7 separate regions of the Homo sapiens genome follow, and all the other regions are linked to region 2. Evidence: promoter capture Hi-C in 16 types of primary human blood cells and fetal thymus (Javierre and others, 2016). All regions are on one chromosome and are shown on one strand. Each heading gives the region's core, a stretch centred on a gene start or on the middle of the fragment in contact. The rest is flanking DNA. Distances are from core to core; before and after follow the strand shown. Region 1 overlaps CWF19L2 (CWF19 like cell cycle control factor 2). Region 2 holds the start of MSANTD4 (Myb/SANT DNA binding domain containing 4 with coiled-coils). Region 3 has its middle 55 kb from the start of LINC02552. Region 4 has its middle 2.9 kb from the start of LINC02552. Region 5 has its middle 170 kb from the start of CASP4. Region 6 has its middle 7.7 kb from the start of ALKBH8. Region 7 overlaps LOC105369466 (a long non-coding RNA gene).

Region 1 (2,996 bases), core at 153-2,652, 1.4 Mb before region 2:
AAAAAAAGAGCAAGAAACAGAAATATGAAAAAAACAATGAGTCATCTGATAGCTCATCAGTAAGTATGTACTAAAATTAATCAAAGCAGCTATTTGAGAACATTTTATTTGAATGTGTAACTTATGGGAAGTTAAAATACAAGAAAACGTAAAAAATATATTACTAGTTATGATATGAAAATATCTGGGATACATCTACTTAGAGATGTCCAGAAAATATTGGAAATGTTGATCTTGAATTTCAGAGAAAGGCTAAGAGGATAGGGATATGATTTGGGAATTATTGCTAAGCACAGCACTGGATCTTGCCCAAGGCCTGCTGTAACAATTACCTGGCTACAGCTGGTGTTCACTCAAGGCCCTGGGGCTCTGCAATCAGCAGGTGATGAAGCCAGCCAGGCCTGCGTCTTTCCCTTCAGGGTGGCAAGTTCCCCCAGGCCTGAGGGTGGGTCCAGAGGTGCCATCAGGGACCCAGGTACTGGCGTCAAAAACCTTAGACTTGTACCTGGTGTTCTATTGAACTGTGGCTGAGCTGGCATTCAACCTATGAATGGCAGTCCTTCCCACTCTTCCCTTTTCACAGGCAGAGGGGCCTCACCCTGTAGCCACCACCATAGACCCACAGGTAGTACTGGCAGGCTACCACTGATGTTCCCTTAAGGCCCAAGAACTCTTCAGTCAGCTGCCCGGCCTGGGACTCACCCTTCAGGGCAGTGGGCACCCCCTGGGCCAGGGCAGATCCAGAAATGCTATCCAAGAGCCAAGGCGTGGGGCTGGAGACCCCAAGATCCCTCTTGGTGTTCTACCACCCTGTGGCTGAGCTGGTACCTAAGGCGCAAGACAGAGCCCCCTTTACTTTTCTCAAGCAGAAGGAGGCTCTCCCCATAGCCACCACAGCTGGGAATGTGCTGAGTCTCACCTGAATCCAGCAAGTCTCAGATACACAGTGAAGGCCACAGTGTAGTACCCGATTATTGGTGCTGGTTATTCAGGGCCTAAGGGCTCTTTAGTGGTTACCAGCTATGGCTGAGCTGGTATTCAAGATGCAAGATGGAGTCCTGTATTTACTCTTCTCTCTCCTCTCCTCAAGCAGAAGGACAGGGTCTCTTTTGGAGCTGCACATTGTGCAGCCTTGGGTTGGGGGAGAGGTGGTGTAAGCACTCCCTTAGCTGCACCAGTTGCCCCCCAACCACCTGTCCATTGGCTCTGAGGCAAGTTTAGCACTAGGAGTCACCAAGGAATTCCACATCCTTGCTAGTACTTGGTATTGTCAGTCTTAGTAATTTTTAGCTATTCTACTGTGTAATGTCTCGTGTGATATTTCTCTGAAGAACAAGGATGTAGAGCATCATTTTAAGTCCCCATAGGGCATTCCATGTCTTTGTGAAATCTGATTTATTAAATATTTTCTTTTTTGTTTTTCATCATTTTTTCTTAGTGCTTCTGGTATCCTAATTTTTGCGCACCTCAAGATTGTGATTTCTCCTATGTTTATGTTATTATTAAATTTTTTTGTTTTTTGTTTGTTTTTAGAGATGGAGCCTCACTATGTTGCACAGACTGGAGTGCAGTGGCACCATCATGGCTCATTGCAGCCTCAAACTCCTGGGCTCAAGCAATCCTGCTGCCTTAGCAGCCCAATTAGCTATGACTACAGATGTAGTACAGAAAAGTTGTTTTTGTAGACATGGAGTCTTACTATATTGTCGAGGCTGGTCTCGAACTCCTGGGCTCTAGTGATCTCCTGCCTCAGCCTTCCAAAGTGCTGGGATTACGGGTGTGAGCCACCATGCTTGGCCTCCTATTTTTTTTCCCTAGAAGTTTTATAGCTTTGGCTTTTTTGCTTATTTATAATCCATTAATAATTTTTATTTATGTTGTGTAGTGTCAGTTTATTTTTTTCCCACGTGGATTTCCAGTTTTTCTAGCATCATTTGTTGAAAAGGCTGAATTTTCCCTATTGGAAGGAATTTAGGGAGATAGATATGTTAAAATATTCTTTCAATCCATTATGCACTTGGTACATCTCTCTATCCATTTATGTCTTTGATTTTTCTCACAATGTTCTGAAATTTTTAGTGTAGAGATCTTACATGTCGTTTGTTATTTTTTTTCCATTTTGTTTTCTGGAAGTGCTATCGTGAGTGGAATTTTAAATTAAATGTGTTTACAGCTAGTATGTAATTATAGAAGTGACTTGAAACATTAGGATCAGAAAAAAAAGAAAAAAGTGAAAAAAAACCTGCTTTTGATATATTCACCTTGCCTCTTATCACCATGTTAAAATTACTAATACTAGTGTTAGTAGCTTTTTTAGTAGATTTCTTAGGATTTCTAGGTAAATGGTATGTCATGTGTGAAAAAGACTTTTACTTTTTTCTTTTCAGTCTCTGTGCCTGTTTTATTTGTTAATTGTTGTTGCCTTATTTCAGTAGCTAGGACTTAAAAATAGTGTTGAATGGAAGTGGTGAGAGTGGACATGATTGCCTTTTTCCTTATCTTAGGTGCAAAGCATTCAGGTTTTTACATTTAAGCATGATGTCTGCTGTGGGACTTTCATGTATGCCTTTTCAGATTAAGGAAATGACATTTTATTTCTAGTTTTCTGAGAGTTTGTATCTTGAATGAGTATTGAATTTGGTAAGTGCTTTTTTTGCATCTATAAGTGTTAAAATTTGCCAGTGAAACGGTTTGGTCCTGGAGTTTCTTTGTGGAATGGGTTTAACGACAGAGTTAATTCCTTTAATAGTTGTGTTAAATACTTTCTGTTTATTCTTGAGTTAGTTTTAGTAATTTCGGTTTTTCTGGGAATTTATTCCATAGAAATTGTCAAATTTATTGTCATAAAGTTATTTGTAATATTTCCTTTGTTCTTTTAATGTTTACGGAATCCATAGTGATACCCCTCTTTCATCCCTGATTTTGGTAATTTCTATTTTCTGTTTGTTTCCTCTGTCAGTCTGTCTTGAGGCTTATCAGTTTTATTAATCTTTCTT
Region 2 (2,814 bases), core at 161-2,660:
TGTGGGAAGTGCTGTCAGAGGAAAGGCCGTGATGAGAGCTCGCTGAAGTAGGCTTGCAGATTTAGTAAACAAAAATTTTTATTTTTTTAAATTTAGCAAATAAACATATGGATACCAAATATTCCATTGGACAGATTAAAAATTATTTGCTTTTTATCTGAACTTCAAATTTAACTGAGCGTCCTGTTTTTATCTGGCAAACCTACAGGGAAGGGAATACTTGGAAGTGGAGGGAGGGTGAATGGAGATAATTTTGGAAGCCTTCCTTTAGAAAGGAATTTCTAAAAATGAATGCTAGGCATAGCGGAGAAGCAGGGAGGAAACACAGCAATGCAAACTGACTTCCCAGTAGCCACTGTAGAGTTCAGGAACTGAAAGAAGCAAAGGGAATGGGGTAAGGAAGAAGAAATGTGGGTATAATGTCGAGAGATGAAGGTTGAGGGAAAAGTAGGTGCCTTATTTTTCAGGTTCGATAAGGAGTTTGTACTGTATCACCAGTGGTGAGATTCCACTAAAAAACTTTAAGCAGCTCATTTTGGCTACAACGTGAAGAATGAACTACAGTCCGGCAGACAGGATGTTGGGAGACCAGCTAGGAGGCTACTGATGGAATTCAGGTGAGTCCACAGAGGCCTGGACAGAGGCAGCGGGAAGAAAGGTGCACTAATCACAAACACCTGAACGTGAGACGGCAGAAAATAAGCAACTGCAAACTTGAATATAGAGGAGGACTGGGAGAGAAGAAAGCAGAAGCACATATTTGGGGAAACAGTGAAGAATGGTAAAAAAAAAAAAAAAAAAAAAAAAAAATTCAAATGTCTTCTGGGAAGTATATAGTATGATAAGGACTAAGAAGTGACTCCTAGATTTAGCCATAAGGAAGTCACCAGCGACCTTTGGCACGGGCAGCCTTAGAGGAATGGCTGAGGCCAATTAGGTCGCAGCTGGTCGAGGAGAAGGTGATGCTGGCCTAAGAACCCGACTGGAGCAGCACAAGTTTCCTACTTCTTCTTTGCCCTTTTAACAGGTGAGGGTCAAGGACAAGAGACGAGTTTGGAGATGCAGCGGCCAGTGCCCCAATCAGTTGGAACAGCGCAGCAAGCGGATCTCTAGGGGCCAATCCCTTCCTAGAGTCCACTTGACTGACAGAGCTGCGCGCCACAGACGGGGCACAGACAGGGAGGTGAATCACGAGGGGGCGGAATTCCAGGGCACTAACCCGGAACCGGTTTGGGACTTGATTCCCATTGTGAGGCCAGGCCTAGGGCGGGCTCTCAGCCAGAATGGCTACACCATTCTAACCAATGGATGAGACTCATCAAATGAGCGGCAGCCATATGAGCCATTGGGGTGGCGGGAGATGGGCGGGCCCAGTTAGTGGGCGGGGGATCAATGAAGCATCTTTTTTCCTACCCCCCTTGGGGCGACCGTGGGGAGGTGCCGCCGGGGTCGCAGGTGAGCGGTTCTATGCTGGAGGAGGCGGCCAGGGAAGCGGCGGCTCCGTGACCAGTGGGTGCCCTCGCAGTGGGTAGGGTCCCGGAGGGGTCAGCGGCAATTGGCGCAACGCTTGCTGCCGGGTTTGGTCCAAGGGCTGCGACGTAGCGGGACTGCACGCTCGGGAGAAGTGCCACGCGCGTCTGTCGCCTGACCGGGGAGGCTGGGGAGGGCCCAGGCCACGGAAACAAGACTGCAGAAGTTTCTGGGCACTCAGTCGGGACTCTCATTTAATACCCAGAGAGAGGAGATCTTCCAGGTTGCCCCGACTCCCACCGGGACTCCTACCAGCAGCAACCTCATCATTGTGGCCGAGGCAGGTGCGCGCCCCTGCTCCCCTGGGTGGCCTTCCGGGAGCCCAGTCTAACTCGATTCTTCCCAGGGGCTCTTTTTGGACGGTCCCAAAGGAGGCAGCGGGAGGGAGGTGAAAGATACTTTGATAACCGTCGACCCATAAGTATACTTGTTATGCACCTACCACGAGTTTTAGAGAAGAACATACTTTTTGGCAGGGAAGTGAATCCCCTATAAGAATATAGGGGAGGGGAAAGCCACACTTTAAAGAGAATTTGGGTAGGGTTTGATATTGTAGATTTGTGATGCTTTTCTTCTTGAACTGCTTAACTAATTTACCCTCAAATTTTTTTGATCCGGAACTTGCCGTCTGGTTTTTCTCAGACTTCTTAATTCTGACTTATCATGAAGTATCTAGGAACTTCATTCTCAAGTTTTAGTGCTTGTAAAAAGTTGCCTGGTTATATTATGCCATTGGCAGTACATCATCTTCACAAGGATTACGTAAGTGAACTACATCTCATTCCTGTTTCCAACTAGTGAAGAACGATTGTGAAATGGGATTTTAGAAAATGGCTGTTCTCTGTGATTGGGCATAGAAGGTTTGTAAGTTTTAGAGACTGCAGCTGTTGAATCCTTTCTGCTAAGAGAGCGATGACAGGCAATAGAAAAGGGATAGTGTTTGACATCTAAAATGACATATTTTCACATTTTATGAGGTGTTATATCCCCAGCACCAAAAATAGTGCCTTTCACACAGTAGGAGCTCAGTAAGTATTTTTTGAGGAAATTATTGGGGAATGAATGGATGGTAGAAAACCCAAGCTTCTGTTACTTGGATACCGGCATATAAAGGAGAGGACAGGAAGACAAACATTTCTGGAAATGGCTTTTATCCAGGTAAGCATATCTACAGAACTTCAACAACTCAAGATGCATCAATGCTGGCACTTTCTTGCACTTAATCAGAAAATATCAAGGTTTTAGAAGAAGATTTTCACACAATTAAGCCAAGACTGGGTATCT
Region 3 (2,929 bases), core at 51-2,550, 1.4 Mb after region 2:
CTTCTTTCACTTGGTAATAGACACTTACGTTTTATCTATGTCCTTCTATGGCTTGATAACTCCTTTCTCTTTAGTGCTAAATAATAGTCCATTGCCTGTATATATAACAGGCTATTTATTCATTCACTTATTGAAAGACAGCTTGGTTGCTTCCATTTTTTTGGCAATTATAAATACAGCTGCTATAAATGTTCATATGCAGGTCACTGTGTGGGCATAAATTTTAAGTCATTTGGGTAAATATCACAGAGTGAATTGCTGGATCATGTGGTAAAACTCTGTTTAGCTTTGTAAGAAACTGCCAAACTGTCTTCCAAAGCAGCTGTACTATTTTGCAATCACCAGCAATGAGTAGAATTTCCTTTCGCGCTTCCTTCTTGTCAGTATTTGGTGTTGTCAGTGTTCTGAATTTAAGTCATTTTAATAGGTGTGTAGAGGTGTCTCGTTGTTTGAATTTTCAGTTTCCTAATGGCATATAATGTGGAACATCTATTTATCTTTGTTTTGCTTGCCATCTGCTTATCTTCTTTGATGAGATGTCTCTTCAGATCTTTTGCCCATTTATTTATTGGGTTGTTTGCTTACTATTGTTGAATTTTAAGACTTCTTTGTACATTTTGGATAATAGTCCTTTTTCAGGTATGTGTTTTGCAAATATTTTCTCTCATCCTGTGGCTTCTTTTTTTAAATCTCTCAATTCATTGACTTGTCACTCAGGAAAAGCACTAGCCTTTAAGTGAAACATCAAAAGTGAAAAATATATTGAACGTGTCAGGCACTGTGCAAAAAACATAATGGTGAATGAGACAATCCTTTTATTCAAGAAGCTTAGTAAACAAAGAAAGAGATAGAAAAAAAAAGATGATTAATCCATAATGTGTGTTACAACAAGGATGATAAAGAGGGTATATTCAAGGTGCACATAACAGCCCATGGAGAATCAGGCAAGTCTTCCTGGAGGAGGTGCCTTCAGATCTGAAATTTAAAATATGTTTAATAATGGGTAAGGAGTAGACTTTGCAGAAAATGCATGTGTTATGAGGCAAGACATTAAAAAGAGAAACAGCATGGTTTGGAAAGGGTACCACTAGCCTTTTGGTATTTGAGTCAGGGAATGATGAGCAACGAGATTGGAGGGCTGAGATGGAAATAGATAGTGGGGACCCTCATATTCCCAATTAGAGAGATTGATCTGCATCCAAGAGGTGTCTTGGAGTATTTAGAGAAAATTAAACACTAAGTAAAATTGTGAATTCTCCTATCAAGAAAGAAAGGCAGAGAGAATAAAGCATAGATCATCCCTTCCTCTGTTTATGTTGCTATGCAAGAAAGCCTAAATCTGGGTAATTTATAACGAAAAGAGGTTTATTTGGCTCATGATTCTGCTGACTATACAGGAACCACGGCACCAGCACCTGCTTCTGATGAGGGTCTCCGACTGCTTCTGTTCATGGCACAAGGTGAAGGACAGCCAGTGTGTAAAGAGCACATGGCAAGAGAGAGGAAAAGTGGGGATCCACCCCCACGACCCAAACACCTTTCACCAGGACCCATCTCCAACTTTGGGGAACAAATTTTAATGTGAGATTTGGTGGAGACAAATGTTCAAACCATACCAGATAACTCACAACATCTGCCACTATGCTTCTGTTAAGGAAAAAGGTAAGATTAAAAAAAATAGTTTGTGTCTTAAGGAATATGTGTAAGTTCACCAGCAAAGCATGGATGCCTAATCTGGTAAACAATAATAGAAGGAAACGAAAAGTAAGCTTTCATATGCAACTGAAAACTTGAGGAAAAGGCAACAAATTTAGTTCAGTAAAAGGATGGGTTTTCCTCTCTAGCTTTGTGAAAAAAGCCTACTGGTTAATTAGTACAAACGTATTCATTTTAATATCCAGCTCTGTCCATGATTTGAATATACAATGATCATAGTAGCAATTCTTCTTTCCTTATCATTTTATATTATTTTACAAAGCTCAAAGTTAACGTCAGAGGATATTTCTTCAGGACTCCACAATAGTTAAAATGGAAGAGATAAATTTGCATTTAAAAATTTCAGACGTTTCTGCCAAAGTTCACCTTCACTGAGTAGCTCATTTACCTCAAGACTTTATTTAAAGGCAATTGTGCCTGAGAGCATCAGAAATTGTAATGTGGTCTCATTAAAAACCTCAGCACAGCTAAACTCCCATGGAGGATGGAGGAAACTGGAAGAGGCATTCCTTTTATTCTGACCACAGGTAAACAAAAAATTTCACAAGTTTTCATGAACCCATCAGAAAACTGATGTTACATGACAATCAAATAGACTAAAATCTGATGAGATAGGAGTTCCCTGGATGAGACAGGACATGAACCCAGGATTACTTGGCAGAACACTAGAGAAAGACATGCCAGTTGGGCAACAAACCAGTAAGGATTCAGCTCCATGTTCCCCAGATTCCTAAAGGGCAGGAAGAGGCTCATTAAGAGCATGATGTCACATCATCATGTGGCTCTCTGGGAGCCACAGACACAGGGGTACTTTACTCACATTCACAAGCTCTTCTTCATGAACCTCCACTGGGTGCTCGCCAAAACGACTGGGACCAGGCAAAAAGGCTCTGGTGGTACATGCCTAGTAAGGCAGTTTCTTACAAAGTTAAACATATACCTGAACTACAATTGAGCAATCCAACTTCTCTAAGTATTTACCCAAGAGAAAGAAACACTTTTATTCACACACTATCTTATATGCAAATCTTTATAGTGGTGTTAGTCATAACTAGCCAAAACCTCTAAATATCCTAAATAGTGAATGGATAAACAAACTGATGCATCCGTACAATGGCATACTAGTCAGCAACTAAAAGAACTAAACTTCTGTTGTACTCTGCAGCATGGATGAATCTCACATTCATTATACTAAGTACAAGAAGGCAGAATG
Region 4 (2,906 bases), core at 335-2,834, 1.4 Mb after region 2:
GCAGTATATGTTAATTTATTGAGCCGTAGGCTTATATCTATGTAAAGGAAAGAATAACATCTACCAAACAAGTTTAATGTAAGAACGTAATGAATAACATATGCAAAGAATATCATTGATACCTAATAAGTATTCAATACAAGCTGTTATTGTCACAGATTTACATGTATTAAATCATCTGAGTTTTTTCTACATAAAATTGTTGAGATTTTACTTGATGAATGGGTAAAGAAAGAAAAATGTTAAATTATATATTTATTTTTTAACCAAATATTAGTTGAGCATTATACCCAGTTGTGCCATATCCTAGATAAAATGAATAAACCATGTCATCTAACAGCTCAAAGCTAAGTAGGGAAGACAGAAACACAAACATAATTACAACAGACTCTGAAAAGTGTACAAATTAGTATATGCATGAAGTATACTTGTGACTGATATAAGGGGTTTCAGTTAAGTATTCACAGAAAGAATACTTGGCCAACTCTTAAAGAATGAGTAGAAGTTCTTTACATATAACTTAAATATAAAACTACCTCAACCTTAAGTACTACAGAATACATAAACGAGTGCTCTAACAGTGAACAGACTCAAAAAACTTGATATGACCTTGTTTATAAGACTAGATCACTTTATTGATGAACTTAATAGCTCCTTACATATATCCCTTTTTGCTGAACCTGCATTAGGAATATTGAAATGCATTCTCTCTCTTTGTTCAGCCTCCTTGAACTTATCCACTCTATATATGTATAGAATCAAGAAAACAGCTGGGAATTTTTCCCTGGAGTTGCTTTCTTTTCAGCATTTATTATTTTCCTTCCTTTAAATAATATCCCATCTGCTTTTGGGAAACTACTAGTTTCGCATTATTGGTTATGCAATTTTGATGGTACTGCCTAGGGTTTATTCGCACAGCTCACACTCTTGGCCACAGTGATTGGGGTCAAAGAAAGGTTCTAACACGTTGATTATTTATTGGATGAGTTCACTAATCAATGGATGTATGCAGGCTTCAGCCAATAGGCACATTATATTTTCCTGGCCATCAGGATTGCTACAGATATTGACCAGTAATTTAGTCCAGCCCCAGAGGTGTGATCCTTAGAACAATTGTTAGGCCTGTGAGACAACAGCCTCCCTGAAGTGGGTGGTAGAAGAATGTAAAGGTTGCTGCTTGCTGCTGCTCTTGTACATCCGTTGAGAGGCACTATTCAAAGGGCTGAGCTAGCCCAGAGGGCAAGGGGCAGTGTAAAGAGAAATTCTAATCATTAGAATTTTAGTTTCTAATTAAACTGAACTACTTGTTTACATTATAGCCAATAATACCTCAGTTTTATTAATCCAATTTAAGTTGAATTGTCAATCACTTAGAGCAGAAAGATCCCTGACTGATAGATACCATCACCTTTCTGGCCAACTTGTTGCAATTCTTCATTTGCATAAGTTGGGAAACTTTTCACTTCTTAACAGTTGGGATCTTATCAGTCTACAGAGAGGCAGTCTTTTTTTTATCCATTTTCCACTTGTTTCACAAAATCAGGATGATTCAGGAACCGCCATCTATGTAACTGAGAGCACTCAAGTGTAATACTTTATGATACCTTTTGTCATCTTGTTTCTTTCCTTTATGTTATCGCTTTACTTTTCTGGTTCAGAAAGTCAATTACCATTTTCATGGGTCTTCCAATGGCCTTCTTTTCCTAAAGCACCTTATTTTTATATAGATATTTTAGCTTTTAAGAAATTGATGTATACAGTTAACACGCCGAGCACATTCTTATATTCCATGCTGTTAGGTAGCTACTAAACCGATTTACAGCCTGTCAGAGCAACTATCTCTGCAAACCACTTTACCAAAGTTTAAAATTATTTGAAAATAGTAAATTAAAAATAATTACCTGGAAAGAACTATTCTAACTTACCAATGATCGGATTCACAGGATTGCCACAAATTGGGTATGAATAATATCTAAAAATATAAAATGTAATAAAATATACATAATATTATGTGTAAAACCATATTATGTATACGATAACTTCCAAATTTGTTTTTTTTTCTGAATCACAAAGTGCTTCAACGTTATCAACAAAGATCAATTACCATGTTTCCGTGAATTTGTACATGGGCTTCTTGTTTCTTAGAGATTTATGGTTGACTGCTTGATTGATACGTTTTATCTTATTTAAATTGACTATGGTGCCATCAGTTTTTTTCTCACTTAAGTTCTACACATATATATGCATAAAATGTTGGTTATTAGTTATTCCCCTTGCTTTTCCTGCGTCATTTATTTTCTTCAATAAGCGGCTTCAGGGAAAAAAATAAAACACTGGCTAAGGATTAAAAACAGTTACTGTTCTCATCCAAGTTACAAATTAGTGTTTATAATTAAACTCCAAACTTAACAATTTCTTTGTTTTGAATCCATCCTGTTGAGTGGTTACAGAATTGTCTATTTCTTCTAACCTAATGCTAATAATGTGCTGGCTTCTACATCTTTATAATTGTTCATTAGCTTCAAGCAGTATGCTTTGACTTCTATGTCCTTGAAACTATGAAATTATGTTTCTATAATTCAGTTTTTCTTAATGTTTCTACTTTACATAGAATGTATTATGAAACTGAGATCTGAGGCATTTTTAGAAATTCTGAACGGGGGATATCAGTTTAGTCAGAACAGTGTCAAATGTGGAACCCAAACAACATAATTGGTACTTTGAGGTTGAGGTTGATGTGACATTCTCTTGAACATATTTTAATACTAATGCATATTTAAATTAAGATTTTAACCTCCTGACGTTCAAACCAACAAGCCAATCACTATCCAACTAGAGAGACATGTCTTACAAATAAGATGACACGACAAAAATCACTTGTCTTGAATCTATGTTTATTGCACAAG
Region 5 (3,154 bases), core at 600-3,099, 1.2 Mb after region 2:
TTGAAGGTATTGACTTGTCAGCAAAATAGACAATCAGAAACCCTAAATATAAGTTGATGGATCAATGGAATTCATTAACATAGAGACAATGGATAATGGGCATAAAAACATTATTGTTGGTTTTAATTTGTGATTGAAACTACAAATCCAATATTATTATGAATGTGCTGTAAGTTTTTCTTTTATTGTGGAGTTAGAACTTCAAGAATTTACCCGTTATGAATGAATCTGAATAAGCATTTATGAAATGACTGACCTGGGTTAAATATGTACACTGTGGACATGAAAACGTGTGAAAATAATGAGCCCGTAGGAGACATGAGGTCTTGACCTGAGATTAATCAAGCTCTCACCTGCTGAGTTAGCCATCTGTATACGTAATCTTATTCTTCTTTTCTAACAAGCTTACATGAAACATATACTGAAAAGAATGATAAATTTTCAGGCTGATGCTAGATTTTGTCAAAAGACTTAGACCAAGTTTATATTTCTTAGCTCTATTGTTCTGCTATCTCAAACCCTTTATCTCCTCTCCTGTCTGAAAAACTGGCATTTTTGAAATCTCTTCACTGAGAAGACGGCAAGTAAAAATGGCAGAGGGGCTTGAAGTATGGCTATTGTTTACATGTAATATAAAAATAATCCAGTGTTTTAGAGCACATTCCCCAAATAAACATTTTTTCTTTTGGTAACTCTACTGTGCTCTTTTTCTCTGTGCATATATATTATATATAACATACATAAGATAATATATATGTATTATATATCATATATGTTATATATAATGTTATATATATTTATATAATACATAGTTCAATATTTCTCCTATTTCCTCAAGCCATATGTGTAAACATTGCATATAGAGTATTTAAACAAACAGTAATGATTATAATAATGGATTGAGTTTTTACTGTATGCAAAAGTGTCAGCTAGGCATTTTCTTGTGTGAATTATTTCTAATTATTCAAACATCTCCACCAGATTTATATATCAACAGAGAGGAAACATAATTTTTTCAGTGTTACAGAACTCTTAAATATTGTGTTAGAACTGAGTACACATTGCCCACATCTGAGGTCCCAGAAAACTATTTGAGGACTGATACATAAAGAAAAAAAATCAAGAGTCTATCCACCTTTTCCATTGTGAACTGTACTTAAGGATAACCAATTAATTAAGTTGTGAAAATTCTCCTCCAGATTCTAAACGAAGAATAGTAGAGTCAGAATGTCAGCATTTTGCAACTTCAAGAAAAATAATGACCTAATAACAGCTAAAAACACAAAGGAGAAAAAGCTAGACATTATGTGCCTCCTGGTGTTAGTACACAGCACCACATTTCAGAATCTGGACAAGGCTCTTAACAGTAACATGGCACAGAGAAACATGTTAAATAATACCACAGGGATGAAATCAACCAAATCCATACTGTGCATAACCACCTGAATAGTCAATAAATAAACTTCTAGAGAGAGAGAGAGAGAGGGGTGTGTGTGTGGGGGAGGGAGAGAGAGAGAGAGAGAGAGACTATGTAAAGGAGACTCTTGCAATTTATCATCCAAATGCAATGTATAGATTTTATCAAGATCTTGATTCTTTTAAAAATTATCAAATAGAGATACTTAAACACTGCCAAAATATTTGGTGTTATTAAACAATTAACTTTACACATGTTTTAGGCATAATAAACAGCAATATTGTGGTTATGTTTAAAAAGTCTTACATTTTAGATATCCCTAATAAATATCTATTGATTAAAGTACATATATTTTACATTTGTATCGATTATCCTTAAGGAAGAGGTGGAAGAAGGTGGGGTGTACAGATGTAAGACTGAAATTGGAAGATGCGACATTGGAATTTTCTCTTATCAGTCTTTCCACATTTGTAAATATTGATCCATAATTTTAAAAATAAGTATAATTTTTTAAAAAATTTAAAATGCAAAGGGGAAATTGTGAGTCTTTTTGACTTCCTATAGTTAATATCAAACACCCCAACATATTAATTTTTTTTCAAATTTTTTACTCCCTATTAGTGACATATCAACAGTAAATCATGTTCGCACCATGAAAGATGATTTCTCTAGGTTTCAGAAGACTCAGAAAGTGTGCCAGTTGTGTTTGTTGATAATCAGTATCTTGCCTACTCTTCTAGACCTGTTGTTTGATTGTGGTAGTATAAAGCCTTAAAATATTATTTACCATATACCCTTTCTAATAGCTTTCTATTTTAATTCTTCAGTGGAAGGCACTCAGGTAAAATTGGATAGACTGGGGAGAAGGAGAAGCCATTTAAAGGAAACCTATTTTTACCCACAGAACATTTCTGACACCAAATGTTTATCAAGTTTTCCCGCACCAACTGACTCACCAACTGTACAGATACCAACTTGATGTCCTACAGTTTAATTCTGCAACTACTTGGAGTTAGTGCAGATCCAAGAGATTAAGGGCTCAGTCCCACAAGTCTGTTTACCTCTTCAAATGCCAATCACAAGATCCAGGTTGTCACCTATACTTCTGACCAACCAGTTATAAATCAGAACTTCTCACCCTCCTCATGTCAAATAATTTGCTAAAACAGCTCACAAAACTCAAGCAAATATTTACTTAAATTTACCACTGTATTGTAAAGGATATTAGAAAGAATACAGATGAACAGCCAGATGAAGAGGTATGTACATAGAATGGGGACTGAGGGTTCCTGAGCACAGGAGCTTCTGTGCCCAAGGAGTTGTGATGTGACACTCTCCAAGCACATCAATATATTCAATGCCCAGAAGTTCTCTGAACCTGTAGTTGAGGGATTGTTATGGAGGCTTCATCACATAGGCATGATTGATTACTAACTCAATTCCCAGCGTCTCTGAGGCTGAAAGTTTCAAGTTTCTAATCATGGCTTGGTCTTCCTGGCAACCAGCCCCCAACTTGAAGCTGTCCAGGACCCTACCAAGTGTTGCCTCATTAGAACAAAAGATATTTTTATCACCCGGGAAATTCCAAGAAGTTAAGGAGCTCTATGTCACAAACCAGGGTCAAAGGTCAAATTGAACAAAGGATGCTCTTAGCACCCTATCACTCAGGGAACTACAGGGGTTTTAGGAGCTCTATGTCAAGAGACAGGTGTAGAGACCAAATATATATTTTCTCTT
Region 6 (2,898 bases), core at 347-2,846, 1.6 Mb before region 2:
CATGTTTTAACGTATAAAAGTTGGCCCTAGGCCGTGCACGGTGGCTCACACCTGTAATCCCAGCACTTTGGGAGGCCAAAGCGGGAGGATCACTTGAGGCCAGGAGTTCGGGACCAGCCTGGCCAACACGGTGAAACCCCGTCTCTACTAAAAATACAAAAATTAGCCAGGCGTGGTGGCAGGCACCTGTAATCACAACTACTCAGGAGGCCGAGGCAGGAGAATTGCTTGAACCTGGGAAGCTGAGGTTGCAGTGAACCAAGATTGCGCCACTGCACTCCAGCCTGGGTGACAGAGCAAGACTCTTGTCTCAAAAAATAAAATAAAAAATAAAATAAAATAAAAGCTAGCTCTTTTACTCATGCGATAACAGACATGGATGTAAATCACTCTTTAAAATATTTTATATTTAAATCCCAGCACTTTGGGGGGCCAAAGCAGGCGGATCATGAAGTCAGAAGATCAAGACCATCCTGGCCAATATGGTGAAACCCATCTCTACTAAAAATTACAAAAAAATTAGTTGGGCATGGTGGCGCATGCCTGTAGTCCCAGCTACTTGGGAGGCTGAGGCAGGAGAATCACTTGAACCCAGGAGGCAGAGGTTGCAGTGAGCCGAGACTGCATCACTGCACTCCAGCCTGGCAACAAAGCAAGACTCCATCTCAAAAAAATACAAAAATAAAAATAAAAAAATTTATATTTAAACAGCTCATACATTTTGTCTTTAAGTCTCAGTTGTTACATTTGTAAAATGGGATATAAGAGATGCCAAAAAGAGTTGTTTTTATTTTTTATTAAAAATTTTTTAAAAACTTTTGTCAAATTATAAAACATAATCTATTATTCTTTAATAATTTAATAATCTGAAATTTGAATCATCTGCTTCTTGGTCCTTGCACCTTATAAAATTAAAATACTTCCCTTGAAATGAGAATTCCAAATATACTAGAAATCTGGCAGCTTCTCACTCTGGGGATGATTTTTAAAGAGGTCTATGTTGACAAATAACATACAATCTTTTTCCTCAGTGGTTGAACACTTGCAAAAGTAGCAAAATTGCTTGTTAAACATGCAGGTTACTGGGCCCTGGCCCCAGAGATTTTGGAGCACACACTGTAACCAACTGGTGTTCAGAGAATTAAAATTTATATGTGCTTTAAGTTGACTCGTTATGTCTAGTGGGGTTGGAGACCACTTAACCAAGCACTTCAGTGATTCTGATGCAAGTAGTCTAAGAACCAGCCTTTGAGGAACATGCCCTAGTGCAGTGGCCTCTAAAGTGAAGTGTGTATGGCTTGTGGGATTTAGAAGAATATTCTAGAAATTCCATTTATATGTTTATCTAAAACAAATTAATCTCTATTCACATTTAATATCCTGGAAGCTTCATTAGGTGTGAATGTCTGATGTTACATGTCACAGACTTTATGAGAGGTGCTCTAGAAGAGGAGAGGAGTGAGAGCTCACAGGCAGGACAGCTGCCTCTGGCATCCTCCCTCTTTTGATTTAAGCGAGACATTATTTTTTTGTGGTGCCTGATAAATGGATTTTTGGATTATGTAATCCAAAAACTATTTTTTGCAAAATGGACAAGTGGGTTAGAAAACTCTGAATTCCCTACAGTGAAGATGAATATAGACAATAATTCAAGCACAAATAACCAACAGAAAATAGCAAAATTAATGCTCCTAGTATGAGCTCTCAGTCCCAACCTAACAGCTGAGACTATCTAATCAGATCTGACAAGAAGTCTACTCCCCAAACTAGAAGCGATCACAAATATAGTTAATAATGAAGCTTGCCCTCTCTGGGCAAATATCTTTGTGTCTTTGAGAAATTAATGATAGAATGAAGCCATCAATGTGGCAAGACATTTTTAAATGAAATGTTTATACATTTTTAAAATATACTTTTTTCTTCTACATTTAAGGGAAACATTTTTAAAAGATTTTGTTTTATTTTATCATAACCTTTTAAAATCCACAAATCCCACACCTCTAGCCACCCCAAAGATTTTCCTGCACCCTGAGTTGCCTGCTAGTTCTTTATTCTCATCTATTTAAAAAATCTGTGTAGAAAAGAAAATTATTCTGCAAAGTAAGCAGGCCTTTAGCCTCAAGAATAAATAGACCATTTGGGGGAGGTTAATGCTTCGTAGCTAAAATTGTATGCTTTGCAAATGACCAAAAAAAAAAAATAATAATAATAAATGAATTCTCCAAGCTGAGTTTTATGTTTTGTATTATAAATTAAAGGCTGACCCTTTTCCTTCTCCTCTGTTTTTTTTCTTGGTTACCTTTTGCCTCTAATTACTGTACAGGGAATACTTTCACCATATGACTTATAAAACTGCAAACTTTTCATTGAATTTTTATCACCATAGCGTGAATAATGTATTCAGTCCTGAAATGTCACAGTGAACATCAAATGGTTTTACATAATGCATTCTTGCTGAAGTTTCAAGAAGCCAGCAACCAGGGAAGCAGCAGAGAAGACACAACTTTGGAAAGAAAACTTGATACAAATTTGTCATTTTTCCAGGAGGAATAAAATAAGTAGCAGAAGAGTAAATGAGAGGAAAGACTGAGAAATAAAACTTTTTTTTTTTAAACCATAAATAGAAAAACAAGCAAAACTAGTACAGTTGCCACAGGGGACAACTGGAAGAAAAACTAGAAAGTAGCCAGAAACAGATGGTGGGGAAAGGGGCTGTAGGGAGAAGGGCGAGGTTAGAAACCTCATAACCATAGGAATTGAGTTTGAAACTGCAGTCAAACAGTTTCATAGTTTGGAACTACAGTAAAAATGTAACAATTTTCAAGGACTATTGGGGCCATTTTCAATTTTTTTCTGATTGAAGACTCTTGAACTAGAATACAATAGCTGTAAGAATTC
Region 7 (3,127 bases), core at 310-2,809, 1.3 Mb after region 2:
AAACCCTTGACCCTATCACATACCATACACAAAATTAATTTGAGATGGATCATAGATTTAAATATAAAAGCCAAAACAATAAAGATTCTAAAAGAAAACACAGAAGAATATTTTTGCTACTTTGGGTTAACAAATGTTTATTAGATAAGATACAGAAGCCAATAACTGAAAAAAATTGATAAAATTGACTTTGTCAAAATGAAAAACTTCTCATCTAAAGATATTAATAACAGACAAGGCAAAGACTTGGAGAGAATATTGTTCAGTCATATCTCAAAAAAACTTTAATCTAGAATATAAACTATTCCTACAATTTGGAAAAGAAATAAGAAAAAGACAAAGACTTGAACAAATACTGCACAAAGAAAGATATAAAAAATAGTCACTAATAAATAAAGAAGTTCTCAACATTATTAGTTTTCAGGGAAATTTAAATTAAAAGTACATGGTGCCACTGCACATACACTAGAAAAATTAAAATCAGGATTTCCATAATTACTGGTAATAGTATAAAATAATACAACCACTATGGGAAATGGTAGCTTCTTATAAATATTTATCTGATTATGACCCAATAATTACATGTATAGATACTTACACAGGGAAATACAAAATTGTTCACAAAAAACTTATATAAGACCAGGTGTAGGGGCTTACACCTGTAATTCCAGCAATTTGGGGCTGAGGTGGGAGGATCACTTGAGTATAGGATTTAAGACCAGCTTGGGCAACATAGACGGACTCTGTCTCTCAAAAAAAAAAAAAAAAAAAAATTAGCTGGGGATGGTAATGCATGCATGTGGTCCCAGTTACTCTACTTGGGAAGTTGAGGTGGGAGGATTGCTTGAGACTAGGAGGCTAAGGCTGCAGTGAGCCATGATTGTGCCACTGCACTCCAGCCTGGGCTACAGAGTAAAATCCTGTCTTAAAAAGGAAAAAAAAAAACTTATATACAATTCATGGCAGCTTAATTCACATTAACCAGCAAATATAAATGCCTATAAACATAGATAAAATAAACAAAAAATTAGTATATTCATTCTATGAAATACTATTCAGGAATAAAAAGAACAATGTACAATAAAACAGGAAAAAACTCCTGAAACACCAAAAGGTCCTAGTTTTGTAGAAGACATTAAAACAAAAATGCAAGCAAGTATATAGAAAAGGGTGGTTCTCTTCCCAAAGTGGAAGGCAAGTTCATCAATTATGTGAAGAATTGCTTCCAGATGACTGGGAATAGGAGGTTGTTCAAGATCTCTGGCAGTGGAGGAAGTCTCCTTAAGAAAATAGTTTAAACAATTTGTTAATTTTTTTCTGTCTTATTTCATTTCTACAACAGTAGATATCTGGCTGTCCTTTTTATAATGCGGAGTGAGAACTTTCCCTATAGTGTTTGATCAATATTGTCCAGGTTCCATTGCCAAGAATGTGTTGTCCAAAATGCCTGTTTAGCTTTTAAAAATGGAACTCCACCCTTTGCTTGGTTTTATGTCTGTATGGAATGTTATGATAAAATATAGTAGTAACAGTGGTCAGACATGGAAATGGTGGGGAGACAAAAATATACATGTGAAATAAAACTCAGTATTTTAATGAAGTAAAAAATGATGTACTGATATGTACAATTACATCAGTGAACCTCACAGTCAATATGTTGAATGAAAGAAGTTAGTCATAAAAGAACACATGTTATTTGATCTCATATATATAATATTCTAATATAGGCAAAACTACTCTATGATGGGAAATTAGAAGATTAATTACTTTTAGGAGGAAATGAGTCACAAAATATATAAGGCATCTTTCTGAGTGATAAAATTATTCTGTATTTTGGCAGGGATGTGGGCTACAGAGGTGCAATTTACCTCTAAACTCTAAAATTCTAACTAAAAAATTTACTGAATTATAAATTTAAGATGTGCATTTCACTGTATGTCAATTTTGCCTCATAAAACTAGTTGTATATAAATATTGATTTTTTTTAGCAAGTTTGTTTTTCACAGTGGTATGGGTTAGAAAAGCTAAACCCTGTGGGTAAATGGACAAATGCATTGAGAATAATGGAAGTCAATTTCCTCACTGTTGAGGAGGGAGAAATATTGAAATAGCAATGACTACAATGTACACACTCCTGTTGAATCAAAATTAGAACTATCACTATATATCATTACAAAATTATGGATATATAGGAAGGTATAAAATAACTCTAGATGTTAGTTCTCTCATATCAGAAGGCTCAGAAGCACACCCATAGTAATGAGCACACTTCGGAATCAGATATTGTTTCATACACACCATTCAACATGAAATAGAACCAAAGCTCCTTGAAGAAGTGCCTGATTCCAGGGCTGGGGAAGGAAAAGTTTTAGATGAGCCTGGATCATCTTATGCAAAAAAGTAAGGTAGTAAGATAGTGCACAAAGAATCCAGGGTCATGGCAAAAAGACACTGAAACCGTCTTGAAAGGACTGCCACCGAACAAATCTGGGATAATTTAGGCAATATAATAAGTAATGAGGTAATAAATTATAAACTGTTGAGTAAAATAAAAATCGAGTCCATACTGATATAAAAATTAATTAATTTATAGAGGGGAAGGGAAAGCTCTTCCTTATAATAGGATGTCAACTAATAAATATAGAAAAAACAGTGGAATTTAAAATATGTCAATTGATGCTGAAACTTGTACCAGGAAATTTGATGAGAATCAGAAATTTCTATTACATCAAAACATCTTCCCACATTTTTGTTAGTGTGGTAATATCATTATAACTAAAATGACCAAAGCTAGCATGGCCGATATTGGGATGAACTGACACCATGCTCCTGATATGAGTTTTCCTCATAATCTAATTACGATAAGCAACTCTAAACTAAGGAATATTCTTCCAAAAAGAAAATAAAAGACATTCTTCTAAAAGTTCAGATCAAGGAACAAAAACAAAGTTCAAGAATTTCTCCAGATGTAAAAGCACTAAAGACAATGAAATCCTCATTGTGATCATGGGTTGGAGCCCAGTAACAAATTCCTGTTACTCCTCCTTTTGAACCTTTACTCTATATTTTTATTTTCTATTGATACTTTTTGTTTACATCTATATTTTAGATGACTTCTAGACTTAAA

What was found. Contacts are between HindIII fragments. The CHiCAGO score rates a contact against its expected background, and 5 or more counts as called.
Region 1: a contact is called between a fragment that was not itself captured here and the fragment with the promoter of MSANTD4 in region 2, in 1 of 17 cell types (naive B cells). The highest score is 6.6, in naive B cells.
Region 3: a contact is called between a fragment that was not itself captured here and the fragment with the promoter of MSANTD4 in region 2, in 6 of 17 cell types (activated CD4 T cells, M1 macrophages, M0 macrophages and 3 more). The highest score is 8.8, in activated CD4 T cells.
Region 4: a contact is called between a fragment that was not itself captured here and the fragment with the promoter of MSANTD4 in region 2, in 3 of 17 cell types (M2 macrophages, activated CD4 T cells and naive CD8 T cells). The highest score is 8.4, in M2 macrophages.
Region 5: a fragment that was not itself captured here is called in contact with the fragment with the promoter of MSANTD4 in region 2 in 2 of 17 cell types (monocytes and total B cells); the score reaches 7.5 in monocytes.
Region 6: a contact is called between a fragment that was not itself captured here and the fragment with the promoter of MSANTD4 in region 2, in 1 of 17 cell types (naive CD8 T cells). The highest score is 6.9, in naive CD8 T cells.
Region 7: a fragment that was not itself captured here is called in contact with the fragment with the promoter of MSANTD4 in region 2 in 1 of 17 cell types (neutrophils); the score reaches 5.9 in neutrophils.

Annotation. Positions count from the first base shown.
Region 1 is chr11:107,451,513-107,454,508 of GRCh38, reverse strand. It overlaps CWF19L2 (CWF19 like cell cycle control factor 2), which reads left to right. Exons shown (of 18, transcript NM_152434.3): 3 at 1-59. Among named protein-coding and RNA genes, the nearest start is that of CWF19L2, 4.8 kb to the left of the region's middle. The HindIII fragment of the contact is 4,540 bases long and covers 1-2,996 here.
Region 2 is chr11:106,020,836-106,023,649 of GRCh38, reverse strand. It overlaps MSANTD4 (Myb/SANT DNA binding domain containing 4 with coiled-coils), which reads left to right and starts at 1,410. Exons shown (of 3, transcript NM_032424.3): 1 at 1,410-2,688. RefSeq lists enhancers at 869-938, 1,769-1,888 and a silencer at 1,329-1,438. The HindIII fragment of the contact is 3,155 bases long and covers 1-2,615 here.
Region 3 is chr11:104,663,226-104,666,154 of GRCh38, reverse strand. No RefSeq gene overlaps it. Among named protein-coding and RNA genes, the nearest start is that of LINC02552, 55 kb to the right of the region's middle. The HindIII fragment of the contact is 942 bases long and covers 830-1,771 here.
Region 4 is chr11:104,610,740-104,613,645 of GRCh38, reverse strand. No RefSeq gene overlaps it. Among named protein-coding and RNA genes, the nearest start is that of LINC02552, 2.9 kb to the right of the region's middle. The HindIII fragment of the contact is 3,436 bases long and covers 1-2,906 here.
Region 5 is chr11:104,792,877-104,796,030 of GRCh38, reverse strand. No RefSeq gene overlaps it. Among named protein-coding and RNA genes, the nearest start is that of CASP4, 170 kb to the left of the region's middle. The HindIII fragment of the contact is 2,886 bases long and covers 407-3,154 here.
Region 6 is chr11:107,571,954-107,574,851 of GRCh38, reverse strand. No RefSeq gene overlaps it. Among named protein-coding and RNA genes, the nearest start is that of ALKBH8, 7.7 kb to the right of the region's middle. The HindIII fragment of the contact is 413 bases long and covers 1,390-1,802 here.
Region 7 is chr11:104,680,538-104,683,664 of GRCh38, reverse strand. All of the region lies in intron 1 of LOC105369466 (a long non-coding RNA gene), which reads right to left. Among named protein-coding and RNA genes, the nearest start is that of LINC02552, 73 kb to the right of the region's middle. The HindIII fragment of the contact is 4,581 bases long and covers 1-3,127 here.